Regions from separate parts of the Homo sapiens genome. Here regions 1, 2, 3, 5 and 6 are each linked to region 4. Evidence: promoter capture Hi-C in 16 types of primary human blood cells and fetal thymus (Javierre and others, 2016). All regions are on one chromosome and are shown on one strand. Each heading gives the region's core, a stretch centred on a gene start or on the middle of the fragment in contact. The rest is flanking DNA. Distances are from core to core; before and after follow the strand shown.

Evidence for each region. The method cuts DNA at HindIII sites, captures the fragments that hold promoters and counts their contacts. A CHiCAGO score of 5 or more calls a contact.
Region 1: a contact is called between a fragment that was not itself captured here and the fragment with the promoter of CCDC89 in region 4, in 6 of 17 cell types (naive CD4 T cells, total CD8 T cells, total CD4 T cells and 3 more). The highest score is 10.4, in naive CD4 T cells.
Region 2: a contact is called between a fragment that was not itself captured here and the fragment with the promoter of CCDC89 in region 4, in 2 of 17 cell types (naive CD4 T cells and total CD4 T cells). The highest score is 7.0, in naive CD4 T cells.
Region 3: a fragment that was not itself captured here is called in contact with the fragment with the promoter of CCDC89 in region 4 in 6 of 17 cell types (naive CD8 T cells, naive CD4 T cells, total CD4 T cells and 3 more); the score reaches 9.8 in naive CD8 T cells.
Region 5: a fragment that was not itself captured here is called in contact with the fragment with the promoter of CCDC89 in region 4 in 1 of 17 cell types (non-activated CD4 T cells); the score reaches 5.7 in non-activated CD4 T cells.
Region 6: a contact is called between a fragment that was not itself captured here and the fragment with the promoter of CCDC89 in region 4, in 6 of 17 cell types (naive CD4 T cells, total CD4 T cells, total CD8 T cells and 3 more). The highest score is 12.5, in naive CD4 T cells.

The regions. Positions count from the first base shown.
Region 1 is chr11:86,017,756-86,020,455 of GRCh38, forward strand. All of the region lies in intron 4 of PICALM (phosphatidylinositol binding clathrin assembly protein), which reads right to left. Among named protein-coding and RNA genes, the nearest start is that of PICALM, 50 kb to the right of the region's middle. The HindIII fragment of the contact is 2,040 bases long and covers 392-2,431 here.
Region 2 is chr11:86,035,890-86,038,589 of GRCh38, forward strand. All of the region lies in intron 1 of PICALM (phosphatidylinositol binding clathrin assembly protein), which reads right to left. Among named protein-coding and RNA genes, the nearest start is that of PICALM, 32 kb to the right of the region's middle. The HindIII fragment of the contact is 8,252 bases long and covers 1-2,700 here.
Region 3 is chr11:85,997,229-85,999,928 of GRCh38, forward strand. All of the region lies in intron 11 of PICALM (phosphatidylinositol binding clathrin assembly protein), which reads right to left. Among named protein-coding and RNA genes, the nearest start is that of PICALM, 71 kb to the right of the region's middle. The HindIII fragment of the contact is 4,873 bases long and covers 1-2,700 here.
Region 4 is chr11:85,684,935-85,687,634 of GRCh38, forward strand. CCDC89 (coiled-coil domain containing 89) reads right to left here and starts at 1,261. Exons shown (of 1, transcript NM_152723.3): 1 at 1-1,261. The coding sequence starts at 1,196. The coding sequence ends at 72. RefSeq lists enhancers at 56-557, 558-1,057. The HindIII fragment of the contact is 2,434 bases long and covers 1-1,875 here.
Region 5 is chr11:86,178,720-86,181,419 of GRCh38, forward strand. No RefSeq gene overlaps it. Among named protein-coding and RNA genes, the nearest start is that of LINC02695, 13 kb to the right of the region's middle. The HindIII fragment of the contact is 1,114 bases long and covers 828-1,941 here.
Region 6 is chr11:86,195,569-86,198,268 of GRCh38, forward strand. It overlaps the pseudogene FNTAP1. Among named protein-coding and RNA genes, the nearest start is that of LINC02695, 3.4 kb to the left of the region's middle. The HindIII fragment of the contact is 9,506 bases long and covers 1-2,700 here.

The sequences.
Region 1 (2,700 bases), core at 162-2,661, 330 kb after region 4:
CACCATGTGAAAGAAGTTTAGCAAGCTGATAGATACGTAATAAAATATCCTTGTTTTTAGAAAATATTCACCAAAGTATTAAAAGATATAAACTATAAAAGGCATCAGGTATGTAACCCACTCTCAAATGGTTCAGAAAAAAATGTGTGTGTGCGCCTGTGTGAATATACACAGAAAGAGAAATGCAGATGTGGCAAAATGCTAAAAACTGGTGGTTCTGAGTAAAGTATACAGAAGTTCTCTAATATTCTTGCTACATTTCTGGAAGTGAAATTATTTTAAAGTAATATTATTTTTTAAAAGTCAGTAAACCAGCTAAAGTATCTCACTGAAGTCTCTCATCTAATTGGTGTGAAGCTAGAATTCAAACCTAGATTCATCTGACTAAAAAAGCTTGTGAGTTCTTACCACTATTAAACACAATGGAAAAGAGTGAAAAACCCAATAGAGAAGCTGTCAATGGACATCAAAAGACAATTAATAAAACAAGTATGGCATTCAAAAGGAAGGGGGAGTGTGCTCAATATCACCATTTATTCAATCAACTAATATAAAATGAACACATATGAACGCATTTTTCATGATGATGGAAGAATACAAATAACTATTTAAGCCAATAATTTAGTATAACTTTTATAAAGGATAATTTGGTGTTTTGTATTAAAATGTTAAATGTATATATATCTCAATGACTCATCAATTTTAATAATTTATTCTATAGAAAAACTCAATGCAACCATACATAAAAGGATGGTCAATCCACTGCTTTTATAAGATTAAAAAAAGGGAATAAATCAGATGTACACCTGCAACATAATTCTACAGCCATTCATAAGAATGAGATGGATTGAGGCCAGATGAGGTGGCTCATGCCTGTAATCTCAGCACTTTGGGAGGCCGAGACAGGTAGCTCACTTGAGGTCAGGAGCTCAAGATCAGCCTGGCCAACATGGCAAAACCCCATCTCTACTAAAAATACAAAAATTAGCTGGGCATTGTGGCGGGCACCTGTAGTCCCAACTACTTGGGAGGCTGAGACAGAAGAATCGCTTGAACCCGGGAGGTGGAGGTTGCAGTGAGCCAAGAGCACGCCACTGCACCCCAGCCTGGGTGATAGAGCCAGACTCTGACTTAAAAAAAAAAAAGAAAAAAATGAGATGGATCTATGTGTACAGACATTGAAAATGTCCAAAATACACAGGAGGGGAAGAAAAGCAGCCTTCAAAGAATCTGATCCAATTTTTATGTAATTTTCTATGTGCCTTTATATACATATTTCTATTTACTCGCACAGAAAAGGTTAGACACACTAAAATGTTAACATTTTCTATGAATTAGGATGGTATTTTTCTTAAATTTTATTACTTTTGTAAACATAAAAAAAAATCTTAATAAATCAAACTTTACTACTTACAATGAGAGTCCTCTCCAAAAGGTGTAGCCTACTGAGGTTTTTGCCATGATATAATAATTTCAATTGCTGTCATGTCCTCAATTTATACCTGATATTCTTGATTTTTTTCTTTTGTATTTATACAGTCTGACGTGTATATGTGTGTGTATAATGCCACTTTTGCACTTCTTCTTGGTCCCCACTCAATTATGGCTCCTCCTTGATTCAACTAAGTCAATACTAATTTTATTGTACTTAATCAGGAGCTATTTTCCTCCAATTAAAAAAGACTGCTCTATTAAATAAAAAAATTCACCAACTATTCTCAAGACTGGCCCTTCAAATTAGAACAAAAGTTACCATTTTAAAAATCTATTATTCTGAAATCTGTAAATACACTGAAGATCAACTTCACTGAAGACACTTTACAGTGAAATATTATTGGACAGGATACAGAGGTTAAAAATCAGACTTCTAAAAAAGTTCTCCACCATAATCTTCTACAAAGTGCTTAAATATATGAAACAAAATCTGTAGAATTTACTTTAGGTATATTCCAAAATAATCACCTCCTGATGGATTTGGAATGGCAGCATAGAACATTTAAATTCAGCTTTAAATTTTCTTGCATAACTAAGAGGTTACCTCTATATTTTAATTAAATTTTTCACTTCAGTCCATTAATTTAAAATTTCAATAGAACAATCTAAAGGAACACATCAATTGCTTAGACCTTTGGGATCACTGAGCAGCAGAGTGGCTCAGGAAGGCATTCACCAGACTATTTCTGTACATGCCAGATTCCCTTCAAGACAGGTCTTCATAGCTACAAGGGTCATCGCTGCTGCTAAGAATGTCTTCAGTGGCTTTCTCCTGAGGCCTCATCCTATATCCTAGGAAAAAAATCTGCATATCAGGTGTTATCACTTATAGAAGCACTGACTATATCATTCATGTGACTGGATCATGTACTAAGATGATTGTTATTTAGGGTGCAGCAAAAATTAAATGCATCTTCTGCATTTAAGATTAAAAGAAAGCTTAAATACAAAACAGCACTGAAAGAAATGAAAAAAGATCCAAATAAACAGAAACACATCTCTTGTTCATAGACTAGAAATTTAATCATTAAGAAGGTAATACTCCCCAAACTGATCTATAGATTCAATGCAATCCCCCACAAAATCCCAGCTATCTTTTCTGCAGAAATCAAAAAGCTGATCCTGAAATTCACATGGGAATGCAAGGGGCCCAGAACAGCTAAAACAATCTTGGGAAAAAAAAAAAAAAAAAAAGAATAGAATTGG
Region 2 (2,700 bases), core at 18-2,517, 350 kb after region 4:
GTGAGCCGAGATCATGCCACTGCACTCCAGCCTGGCCTACAGAGCGAGACTCTGCCTCAAAAAAAAAAAAAAAAAAGAAAAAAAAAGAAAATTGGAGATAAAATTAATATGGAAGGCAAGGCAAATTAACTGGTTAATCAAATTTTGCTTCACTTATCAAATCTTTGTAATTTTTCCTTGGTGGGAGTAGAAACAAAAAGCATATTCATCAAAAAATAGTAAACAGAGGATAAGGAACTTTTATATGAAGTATCAGCAAAATTTTTTTCATATAGCAAAATTGTTTTAAGTATTTCAAAACTATGCAAGTTGAAATTAGACATAGGCTAATCAAAGTTAAACACAGGCAAATTTGCCTAGTCGTAAGTGTCAATGTCCAGGAAATGAAATGAACAGTCTTATTTCTTACTCCAATGATTTGTGAAAGGGATCATAAAATATGGTCCAAATTAAGATGTAACTGTTAAAATTTTATCTGTAAAGTTCATGGGGTCTTCTGTGAGAAACACAATGTTTTATTTTTATATAACTTCCAGTAGAATTAACTCAAAACTATGCTCTTCACAGGCTGACTTACACCTTAAGAAATCTAACCAACATAATTGGACTTTAATAACTGGGGAAATACTCTTAAAGACAGAATATGGAACGCTGAGTACAATGACAAAGATTGACAAAAATAATCAGATGGCTTTTAGAACAATACTAATGAAGCTAAGGGACCTAATTCATAATTTAAGTGGACATATCCAAGAGTGAAGAGTTAATCAAATGACACTACAGTCTGACTATGAAATACTATGAGGCCAACGAATGCATGGCACAAAAAATAAAAGCTGTCAGGAGAAAATGTTCACCACATATTAAGTCAAAAGTTATAGTAAAGAAAAATACACAGTACAATTCCATTTTTTAAAACTGTATGTGTGAGGCTAGGCATTGTGGTTCATGCCTGTAATCCCAGTGCTTTGGAAGGCCGAGGTAGGATGACTGCTTGAGGTCACGAGTTTGAGACCAGCCTAAGCAACACAGGGAGATCCTGTCTCAACAACAACCAAAAAAAAAAAATTTTTTTTGAGATGGAGTCTTGCTCTGTAGCCAGGCTGGAGTGCATGGCGTGATCTCGGCTCACTGCAACCTCCGCCTCCCAGGTTCAAGCGATTCTCCTGCCTCAGCCTGCCAAGCAGCTGGGACTACAGGGGCCCGCCACCACGCCCAGCTAATTTTTGTATTTTTAGTAGAGACAGGGTTTCACCATGTTGGCCAGGATGGTCTCAATCTCTTGATCTCGTGATCTACCCGCTTCGGCCTCCCAAAGGGCTGGGGATTACAGGCATGAGCCACCACACCCAGCCAAAAAAAAAAGAAAATTTTTTTTTTTTTTTTTTGAGACGGAGTCTCACTCTATCGCCCAGGCTGGAGTGCAGTGGTGTGATCTCGGCTCACTGCCACCTTTGCCACCCAGGTTCATGCAATTCTCCTGCCTCAGCCTCCCAAGTAGCTGGGATTACAGGCACCTGCTACCACGCCCGGCTAATTTTTGTATTTTTAGTAGAGATGGGGTTTCACCATCTTGGCCAGGCTGGTCTTGAACTCCTGACCTTGTGATCCACCTGCCTCGGCCTCCCAAAGTGCTGGGATTACAGGCGTGAGCCACCGCACCCAGCTCCCTAGTTTTTTTTTTTTTAATTACTGCTTGTAGTGGAGGTTGAGGCGGGAAGATAGTTTAAGCCCAAGAGTTTAAGGTTACAGTGAACTGTGATCACGACATTGCACTCCAACTTGGATAACACAGCAAGACACTGTCTAAAAAAAAAAAGTTATGTATGTGTAATATTTTTTTGTATATATTGTATTTGCCCAAATACAAGGTGATGCATACACAATCGAACACTTCCAAAATGACTTAGCAACTATGTCATATATGAAGTTAGAGAAAAATAATTTATAAAGGAACTATAACACTGTTACTTCCATAAACTAATCTCAGTACCTCTCATGTCACATAGCACACACCAGTTCTGTACTGTAATTTATTCCACACCCTTTAGAACGTTATCATGATCAAGAGCAGAAAGGAGAGCCATGACACATTCTTTATCTCCTCAAGGATGTGAGGAAGAGGTGGTACAAGAATAAGAGTGGCTGGGCCAGGCATGGAGGCTTACGCCTATAATCCCAACACTATGGAAAGTTGAGGCAGGTAGATCACTTGAGGTCAGGAGTTCGAGACCAGCCTGGCCAATATGGTGAAACCCTGTCTCTACTAAAAACACAAAAATTAGCCAGGCATGGTGGCACATGCTTGTAATCCCAGCTACTTGGGAGGCTGACACAGGAGAATCGCTTGAACCCAGGAGGCGGAGGTAAAAGGAAGCTGAGATCACAGCCATAGCACTCCAACCTGGGCAACAGAGCGAGACTCCATCCGAAAAAAATTAAACAAAACAAAACAAAAAAAGAATAAGAGTTGCATGGTAAAGTACCTGAGAATTTGGCAGCCACTATGCCAGAAGTAGGTCAGTATTTTGAACACAAGTTCAATCTCTTACAATGGTAAATGAGCCTTAAGGAATCTCCAGACCCCACACCCAAAGTAAGTCAAAGTCCTGGCCGGGCACGGTGGCTCACGCCTGGAATCCCAGCACTTTGGGAGACCGAGGCGGGTGGATCATGAGGTCAGGAGTTCAAGACCAGCCT
Region 3 (2,700 bases), core at 126-2,625, 310 kb after region 4:
ACAAGATTCTAAAATACAAAATATCACAGCAATTTTAATATTTTTAATAAAACTCTTTTCTTACTTTTAATATTCACAGAACTTGAATCACATTTGCAATACACTACACAGTAAAATACTCATTAACCTCACTTCTAGTGCCTCAGTGTCCAAACTATGTATCAATGATACAGGGAAAAAATTTTACATGCATTTATGAATAGAGCCACCCCATCACACAACACACTATTTACATGATATATTTCTTTCTTCTTTTTTTTGAGACAGAGTCTCGCTCTGTCGCCCAGGATGGAGTGCAGCGGCGTGATCTTGGCTCACTGTAACCTCTGCCTCCCAGGTTCAAATGATTCTCCTGCCTTAGCCTCCCAAGCAGCTGGGACTACAGGTGCGCAGCACCGCATCCGGCTAATTTTTGTATTTTTAATAGAGACAGGGTTTCACCATGTTGGCCAGCCTGGTCTCAAACTCTTGACCTCAGGTGATACGCCTGCCTCGGCCTCCCAGAGTGCTGGGATTACAGGCGTGAGCCACTGTGCTCAGCCTCTTTTTTTGTTGTTGTTTTGCTTTTTTTGAGACAAGAGTCTCACTCTGTTGTCCAGGCTGGAGTGCAGTGATGTGATCTTGGCTCAATGCAACCTCCACCTCCTGGGTTCCAGTGACTGGCATGCCTTAGCCTCCCAAGAAGCTGGGATTAAAGGTGCATGCCACCATGCTTGGCTAATTTTTGTCCTTTAGTAGAGACAGGGTTTCACCACACTGCCCAGGCTGGCCTCGAACTCCTGACCTCAGATGATCCACCCACCTGAGCCTCCCAAAGTGCTGGGATTACAGGCGGGAGGCACCATGCCTGGCTTACATGATATATTTCTACCTCAAGACTTCTATGTAATTTTTTTTATTTGAGACAGAGTCTCGCTCCGTCGCCCAGGCTGGAGTGCAGTGGAGCGATCCTGGCTCACTGCAAGCTCCGCCTCCCGGGTTCATGCCATTCTTCTACCTCAGCCTGCCAAGTAGCTGGGACTACAGGCGCCTGCCACCACGCCCGGCTAATTTTTTATATTTTTAGTAGAGATGGGCTTTCACCGTGTTAGCCAGGATGGTCTCGATCTCCTGACCTCATGATGCGCCCACCTCAGCCTCCCAAAATGCTGGGATTACAGGCATGAGCCACCATGCCCGGCCGACTTCTATGTGATTTTAATGAACAACTCAAAACATGACCCCAGAGTGTCTAAGAATTCAAACACAGTACAGATAATTTTTTTAAGAGAAGGGGTCTGGAGGCTGGGTGTAGTGGCTCATGCCTGTAATCCCAGCACTTTGGGAGGCTGAGGCGTGCGGACTGCTTGAGTTCAAAAGTTCAAGATCAGCTTGGGCAAAATGGCGAAAAAATACGAAAAATAGTTGGGCATTGCGGAGTGCGCCTGTAGTCCCAGCTACTCGGGAAGCTAAGGCAGAGGGAATGCTTGAGCCCAGGAGGTTGAGGCTGCAGTGAGCCATGGCTGTGCCACTGCACTCCAGCCTGGGTGACAGAGTAAGTCACTGTCTCAAAAGAGAGAGAGAGATTGAGAGAGAAACAGACAAACAGACCAAGAGATGTTGCCCAGGCTAGCTTGTACGGCTGGGCTCAGGCCTTCCTCCTGCCTCAACCTCCTGAGTAGCTGGGACAACAGGCACACGCCACCACACCCAGCTCCTAATTTTTAACTTATATATTCTCCAAAATAGAATGTTTTTCTTTTTAAATGGATATACAATAATTGTACATATTTATGGGATACATATGATATTGTGATACATGCATACCATGTAATTATCAGGACATCTATCACACCTCAAACATTCATCATTTCTCTGTGTTGAGAACATTCTAAATCTTCTAGCTACTTTGATATAGGTAATACAATTGTTTTTAATTAGTAATTCTACTGTGCTATCAAACACTAGAACTTATTCCTTCTAACTGTATTTTTATAAAAAAGTTTTGAAGACATGTCTTTTAGATGTACAATAGTTGTGTAGATAGTAGATATAAACGCATTTAGTGCTTTGGGGAACATATAGAATATACAATAATAATTCTGTAAATGGGCTGTAAGATTTGCCCTTAATTACTATTAAAAAGGTGAAAATTTTTAGTATGTGACATAAAACATAGTGAAATTAGTTCTTTATCCAATAATTTGTTTCAGCCTCGAACAATGAACATTCTTTTCACTTCTTTCTCCTAGGACAGACTTCTTTTCAAGATCTCCATGTTGAGAACTTGCCCCTTAATGGGGTCAATGTTACTTAACTGGGGATTAAAGAAGGTAGCATACATGAGCAAACAAATCATAAAGCTGAAAGAAAAAAAAGAACTAAATTCAACAAACACCTACTAAGATTTCAGGGAGCAGGTAGCAACTGAGCATGCATACAGCAAGCAGTTCACGTAGTAAAACTTACACTGAGCTATTAGGCTCAGCTATTAGGAGTCAGTAGGCAGGCAGATGAGCTTTTAAGGGTGAGTTAATAAACAGCAACAACAAAGTGAAAGGAAAAAACTCACCACTCTCTATGGAACATTTAACATGTGCTAATAATGCACTGTGCTAAAACCTAGTCACCTGGGAGCATCTTAAAAACAAAAATTCTTGGGCCCCAGGCCCCACCTACTGAATCAAAACTCTAGGATTGGGACTCAGATATCTGTAGTTT
Region 4 (2,700 bases), core at 11-2,510:
TACTCTTGCCATAATGCTAAGACGCAAATATTTGAATTCTGAATTGCAGGCCAGAGGAAGCAGAAACTTCCCTATGGAGAGAGATGGCGGAGTTTGCCATTGAGTTCTCTCTCCTTGCTTAAAAGATCCAAGCTGTGCTTTTTGAAGGCTTCAGACTGCAGCCTGAGTTCATCGTAGGCCTTCTGGATCCCATCTACTTTGCGCTGAAGCTCCCTGACTCTCAAGTTGCTGTCCACAGCCACTGCCTCTTGCTCAAACCGCTCCAGCGCATGCTTCCTGTCTTCATTTGCTATCTCCAACTTTTCCTCAAGCTGGCAGATCTCTGCCTGTTTGTTCTGAAGCACTTTGCCCCTTTCAATGGACAGCTGCAGCAACTCCTCTTTCTCTCTAGTGACGGTCTGCAGCCTGGCCTGCAGCTCCTGGCTCAGGCTGCTGTGTGTCTCCTCTGCCTTAGCTATCTGCTCCACAGCCTGCTGGTGCTGCTGCTTGAGGGTCTGCAGCTGGCTGCGCAGCTGTTCTGTCTCCTTGGTGTGGGTGCAGGCCTGCTGGCTCTGTAGCTCCAGCAGCTCCTTCTCGCGCGCCTGTGCCTGGCAGGCATCCTGAGCACACCTCTCCTTCAGCGTTTCTAGCTCCCCAGTGAGGGCCTCACACCGGACTGTGAGCTGTAATACTTTCGCCTCCTCATCCTTCAGAGCCTGGCTGAAGAGGCTGCTATTCTCCAGCCTCAGCTTCTCATTCTCCTCCCTCAGCTTGATGTTCTCACTCTTGTATTCATCCTTGAAGCGGAGCATCAACTCGTGGTTGGCTGCTAGGGTCATAAAGCGTTCCTCTAGTTTCCGACTGTACTCACCCTGGGCCTTGAGCTTCTCAGCCTCCTGCATCATCTTCTCCTCCAGCTCTGCATTGAGCAGCTCTAGGATCTGGCAGCGCTCCAGGGCCTCATCTGACCTCCGCTTCAGGATGCAGATGAGCTGGGACTGCTCTTCAATGCGGGAGCGAAGCATAGCCTTCTCGCTCCTCTCCTCCTCTGACAGTCCCCGGAGGTTTGCCAAGGCTTCCCTCAGACCGTCCAGTTCCTTAAACTCCGTCTCCTCTTCCTGGTTGTTCAGTTTTTCATTTTGCTTCTCTAAGCGTTCTTCAGGGGGCGGGGTGTCCATCCTGGGAGCCTGCTGTTTCTGGAGCATAGGCGCTCTCATCCACTAAGGGCTGACTACAGTCTTTTCCCCTCAGATTTCAAACGCTGCAGGGTGTTGCTAGGGACTCTTGGCACTCCCCAGCAGTTGGTTTTTCCAGTAAGGAGCCCTGTAATTGGTGGACAGGTCTTCAGAATGCTATGAAGTAACAACAGGGGAATCTGGGGGAGTCCAGAGCCAATCTGGTCGGGTTACTTTTGCCTTTCTAACCAATCACAGCTCTCAGTTGTCAACTGTCTCAGTGTCTGGCCTGTACAGCACAGAGATGCCAACCCCACTCAATCTCCAGCCAGCATCAGGGGAGGAAGCCTGACTCCACCTAATTTCTGGTAGTAGTAAACAAATGAAGCAGGCAATGATATATTTATCCTCCCTCTCCCCTCTTCAGTTATCGTTTGAATAAATTACTGTTTGTGGAAACATGGTTGGCTCCTCAAAAAATTTCAGTCTATGAATACAAAGTAGTAGTGGTATTCTGAGAGCCAGGACCCTAAAAGCCTGCATATCTGCACCCGTGATGTTTGGCACAGCTCCCTTTTGGTATTTAAGTATTAAAATAGAAAACACCAGTGAAATTTCTTTTGTTGTTCTTAGCATTGTCCCCACCTGGGCATAAATACTCTTTATTAGATATTTAACACCCCCTGTTTTTACCCATTAGCAAAATAAGGTTACAGAAAGAAGCTTAGTGAACCACACAGATAAACATTAAAACAGAAAAAATAAGATTCAAATGAAGCTTGCCATTATATGCCAAAGTCAACTCCTGATAGATTAGTTAAATGTAAACAGAAACTAGAAGAAAATGAAGGTAAACATCAAATCTCTGGGGCTAGGAAGGATTTTTTTTTTATCTTAAACATTATGTAAGATCAGAAAGGGAAAGCTTACTCAAAAAGTTATGTATAATTTTTTAAATTATGTGACTTCTGAGGTCTCTCCAGCCCCTTCTTCCACTGGATTTTCTTGACATTTTACTCCTCAAACCCAAATATTGAAGCCAAACCCAAATCCACTAACCAGCTCTCTCGCCCTATCTTTAGGTGTTCCTCTACTTGGAATGCCTTTCCTACTTTGTCCCTTGTCACTCTAGTAAAGCTTTTTATTCTTAGTTAAGAATCGTCTCTGAAGCCTATTCCTGGCCCCTACATGTCCAATTGGTCACTCACATCTTTTAGTGCATCCGCTATAGCTATTTGTACTTCTGGTGGAGGATGTGAAAATTTTATTGCAGTCACTGTTTATCTGCCAGCTTCCCTCTGTTAGACTGTAAGATCCTTAAGGGCAGGGACTGTGTCTATTTCATCCTTGATGATTAGACTAGTGCCTGGCACATGGGGGAGATTCAGATAAATGTGTATTAAGTGGATGTTGAAGGTAAAAATCAAATTGAGAAAAATATCCCTAATATGACAGACACTACTTTTTTTTTTTTTTTTTTTTTTTTTTTGAGACAGAGTCTCCCTCCATCGCCCAGGCTGGAGTGCAGTGGTACGATCTCGATTCA
Region 5 (2,700 bases), core at 135-2,634, 490 kb after region 4:
GACTGAGCATGGTCTGTAAGTAATAAACAAGAGTTTCTTCATCCTCTGGAACTCTATCCTCTGTATCCTTTGTAAACCCCACTCTCTAAAAAGCTCTCAGTTTTATGACTGGAGCCCCAGAACCAGGGGAAACATGCTGCCTGGGTTTTGCTTTTTCAGTGGAAGCAGATTATATCAACCTTGGTCAGAAAACATCATGAAATTCTGTTCCACTGTTGTTTAAAATAAATATTTCTGTGAAAAATGCTGATAAAATTTGTATTAGTCAGGGTTCTCCAGAAAAATGGAACCAACAGGATTCATGTATGTGTGTGTGTAAAAAGAGCACTAAAGAGATGTTAAAGAATTGACTCATGCAATTATAGAGGATGATGTCTTAGTCTGTTTTCTGTTGCTTCAAAAGAATATTTGATCCAGCGTGTATTCTGTACTTAAAAAAAAAAAGAAAAAAAAGAAAATCTGAAACTGGGTAATCTGTAAAGAAAAGAGGTTTATTTGGCTCACACTTCTGCAGGATAAGAAATTCAAAGGCATGGCCTTGGCTTCTGGCGAGAGCTTTCATGCAGCATCACAACATGTTGGAGAAGGTCAAGCCGGAAGCAGACACATGCAAACAGGGGAAGCCAGGGGAGCGTCCTGGCATTATAGCAACCCACTTTCACAGGAACTAATCATTGCTATGAGAACCAGTTCAGTTGCCTGACAGCGAGAACGGACTAACTTGAGAACATCACAAAGCCATTCATGAGCGCTGTCCCCATAATCCAAATACCTTCCACTAGTCCCCACCTCCCAACACCAGCACACTGAGGATCAAATTCAGCATAAGCTTTGGTGGAGACAACCAACCATATCCAAACCATAGCAGATGGCAAGTCCAAAATCTGCAAGGCAGGCGAGCAGTCTGCAGAACCCAGAAAGAATTAATGTTGCAGTTCAAGGCTGAAGGCCGCCTGCTGAAAGAATTTCCTCTTGCTCAGAGGAGGTGAGTCTTTTGTTCCAGTTAGGCCTTCAACTGATTGGATAAGGCACACCCACATTATGAAGGGCAATCTGGTTTCCTCAAAGTCCAATAAATTAAATGTTAATTTCATCTAAAACACTTTCACAGAAACATCCAGAATAATGTTTGACCAATATCCGGGCATTGCAGCTCAGCCAGGTTGACACAAAATAAACATCACAAGACCACAAGCTGAAAGTTTTACAACCCAAGAGTCCCGTTAGAACTCTGATGTAGCTGGATGAGTGCCAGTTGCTAGAGGAGCCGCTGCACATAAAGGTCTTCATAATACTGGACCTCGCAAAACCATAGATCTACATCAGAGGAGAGAGAAGGAAGCCTGGCAAAGACGGAAAACTCATCAGGTAGACAGAAAGGTTATGACTGGGAAAGACTATTTTGGCAAACAGAGATTCCCTAGCCCTAATCCCTTTCCTTCTGTTTTTGTTTGTTTGTTTGTTTGTTTGTTTTTTTTGAGACAGAGTCTCGCTCCGTCGCCCAGGCTGGAGTGCAGTGGCATGATCTCAGCTCACTGCAACCTCCGCCTCCTGGGTTCAAAGGATTCTCATGCCTCAGCCTCCCGGGTAGCTGGGATTACAGACCCAACACCACGCCTGGCTAATTTTTGTATTTTTAGTAGAGACGGGGTTTCACCACGTTGGGCAGGCTGGTCTCAAACTCCTGGCCTCAGGTGATCCGCCTGCCTCGACCTCTCAAAATGTTGGGATTACAGGCGTGAGCCACCGCACCAGGCCCTTCTGTTTTGTTTCATAAATTAAGCAAAAGACCAGATAGGGGAGACACTGCCTTGTTTTTCCTTCAAATATACTTGGTGGACTGGAGTTCCAACAACCAGACCTTTGGGGCTGAGATAAGTTTTTCTTTCTAAGTCCTCAGTGTGGGGAACTACGACATCTGGCTTCCTGTTAGGAAGTTAAAGCTTGTGGCTATAGGAGAAGGTCTGACTCTTGGTGAAGCTGCAAAAGTCTTAGAGCTCTAAATATCGGGCTTTGGACATGGAGATTCTTTTATACGTTCAACAAGTATCCTTTGTGCCAGGCTTGATTGTACATGCTGGCAACATAACCATGAACAAAAGTCACAAAAATCCCTGCTTTCCTGGAGTTTTCATGCTACCAGGGGAGACAGACAAGAGACAATATGAATACGTGAAATACAACATATAATATGCTAATTACAAGTGGTAAAGAGAAAAATAAAGCAGGGAAGGGGACTAGCAAATGCTGGGGAACAGATGTTGTGATTTCAGATAAGGTGGCTAAGGAAGGCCTTGCCAAGTAAGTAACATTTGAGTAAAGACCGGAAGCACAAGAGAAGGTGAACAGTGTAGACAACTGAAGAAAAAGCATTCTAAGCAGAGAAATAACTGTAAAGGCCATTGTTGTGGGTTGAATTATTTCCCGTCGCCAAAACATATGTTGAAGTCCTAAGCCCTGGTACCTGTGAAATGTGACCTTATTTGAAGACAGGGTCTTTGCAGATCAAGTGAAGATGTGGTCATTAGGGTGGGACCTAATCCAATATGAATGGTGTTTTTATGAGAGGACACAGAGACAGAGAGACACAGGGAATATGCTGTGTGATGACAAAAGAGAGATTTAAGGGATGCAACTGCAAGCCAAGGAATGCCGAGAGTTGACAGCCATGGCCAGAATCTCAGAAGAGGCAGGCAAGAG
Region 6 (2,700 bases), core at 81-2,580, 510 kb after region 4:
GGATCTACATGAGGAAATGAACTACATCACTGAAATAATTGAGGGGCAGCCCAAAAACTATCTAGTTTGTCACAATAGGCGAGTAATAGTGGAATGGCTAAGAGATCCATCTCAGGAGCCTGAATTTATTGATAATATTCTTAATCAGGATGCAAAGAATTATCATGCCTGGCAGCATCGACAATGGGTTATTCAGGAATTTAAACTTTGGGATAATGAGCTGCAGTATGTGGACCAACTTCTCAAAGAGGATGTGAGAAATAACTCTGTCTGGAACCGAAGATATTTTGTTATTTCCAACACCACTGGCTACAATGATTGTGCTGTATTGGAGAGAGAAGTCCAATACACTCTGGAAATGATTCAACTAGTACCACATAATAGTTCATGGAACTATTTGAAAGGAATTTTGCAGGATCGTGGTCTTTCCAAATATCCTAATCTGTTAAATCAATTACTTGATTTACAACCAAGTCATAGTTCCCCCTACCTAATTGCCTTTCTTGTGGGTATCTATGAAGACATGCTAGAAAACCAGTGTGTCAATAAGGAAGACATTCTTAATAATGCATTAGGGTTATGTGAAATCCTAGCTAAAGAAAAGGACATGATAAGAAAGGAATATTGGAGATAAATTGGAAGATCCTTTCAAAGCAAACACAGCACAGAAAATGACTCACCAACAAATGTACAGCAATAACACCACCCAGAAGAACTTGATGGAATGCTTTGATATTTTATTAAGGGACTCTGCAGGAGTTTAAAATGAGGGTGATCCTTCCCTTTGCCTGTGGCGTAAAAATGCATCACACAGGTATTGCTTTTTAACAAGAACTGACGCTCCTTGGGTGCTGCTGCTACTCAGACTAGCTCTAAGCCATGTGATTGTTCTAAAGCAAAGTCATTGCATGGGAAGAGGAAGAAAAAGTCCCATAAACGAACTTTTGTAGTCTTATCAACATGTAATCAAATCCCTTAGCATCAGCTCCTCCCTCAGCGGTACACGCGTCAAGATTTGTAGCAGTAATAACTGCAGGTCACTTGTATGTAATGGATATGAGGTAGCTGAAGTTTGGTTCAGTAAGCAGGGAATACAGTGGTTCCATCAGAGCCAGTCTGCACACTCACATTATCTTGCTATCACTGTAACTAACTAATGCCAAAAGAACAGTTTTGTAATAAAATTATAGCTGTATCTAAAAACAAAAAACAAACAAACAAACAAAAACAATAAGGACTATCTTGTTTGTCATTGCATCTTTAGTCTTCAGTATTCTGAGCACTTAGGGGCAGAGCATGATGACCGGCTAACCCAACAACTACACCCAACTAATCTTTTGCCTGCTTCCACTATAAAAGCCAGAAAAAAAAGAATCATTTTTCCCAACCTCCCTTGCAACCATTAGACACTACACACACAAAAAAGCTCTGCCCAATAACATCTGAGCAAAGATCTTAGGGAGAAGCAGACTGCTTCTAAGAGCACTTATGCAATTCTGATAAAAGGGTCAGAGTGACTGATACAAACCGTCTCCCTTTCCTTCTGTCTTGAATACAAACATGATGCTTGAGTTGGAGTAGTGCCATCTTGCAACCATGAAGGAAAAGCCCAAAAGGCCACTGAGCCACCCAACAAATGCAGCTGCTGCATTTATGTTACATGAGAAAATTGTACCATCGCCGATTCAATCTGCTGTGTTTGTGTCATCTGTTACTTGCACCTGAGAACATTCCTAAGTAACTTATAAATTAATAATTTTTGTCACTTAAAAACAGGTAATTTTTTTATTTCAAATATTTTCAAATGTTTAGTCCCAGAAACTTCTCCTCAAGAGGAATTTTAAACTAAGCCGAATAAATAATGTTGATCAAAGGAGAGGTGTTCTCACTGAAGAGGAAAGGAGATTGCTGTGTGGACTACCAGCCTTTTTCTTACTCCCTTGTTTTCCCCAGTAGCTCCTGAAGCACATATTTAAAACTTCTATGGCTTCTCTGAATACTGAACTACTCTCTAACACTTGATGGGAGTGTAAACTTGAACAGCCTTTTTTGTGCACAGTTTGGCAGTTTGAGGACAATTCCTATCATGTTGTTAAATTATGTAATCTTTGACTCAGCAATTCCATTTCTAAGAATCCAGCCACAGATATACTGGCATTGTTGTACAGAGATATGTATATATATACAGAAGGTGGTTCATTACAGAATTGCCTAAAGGTTAAAAAAAGAAAGAAAAATTTTAAAAAACAACATAGATGTCCAATAAGGAACTCATTAGTTACTTTATAGCACATTCATCCTCTGGCATATTCTGCACCCATTACTGACATTGAAAGGTCTCCAGGATATAGTAAAGTAATATACCTTTAACATATATTTAAAAAGTAACTCATAAAATACTATTAAAAGAAAAATCAAATGAGTACATAAAAATATACATATGTAGGTATGTTAATGCATAGAAACATGTCTTGAATGAAGACAATGTTAACAGTGATTACTTTTGGGTAGTGGGATTGAGAGAGAGAGAGAGAACTTCAACTTTTTACTTTGTAAACCAGTATATTGTTTCAAAAATTGGCATGTATTTATTTTTCTTAGGTAAAAAATAGAGAATAGTACCTTGCCAAAGAAGATAAACTGATGATAAATAAGCACATAAAAAGATGCTCAACATTATATGTCATCAGGGTATTGCAA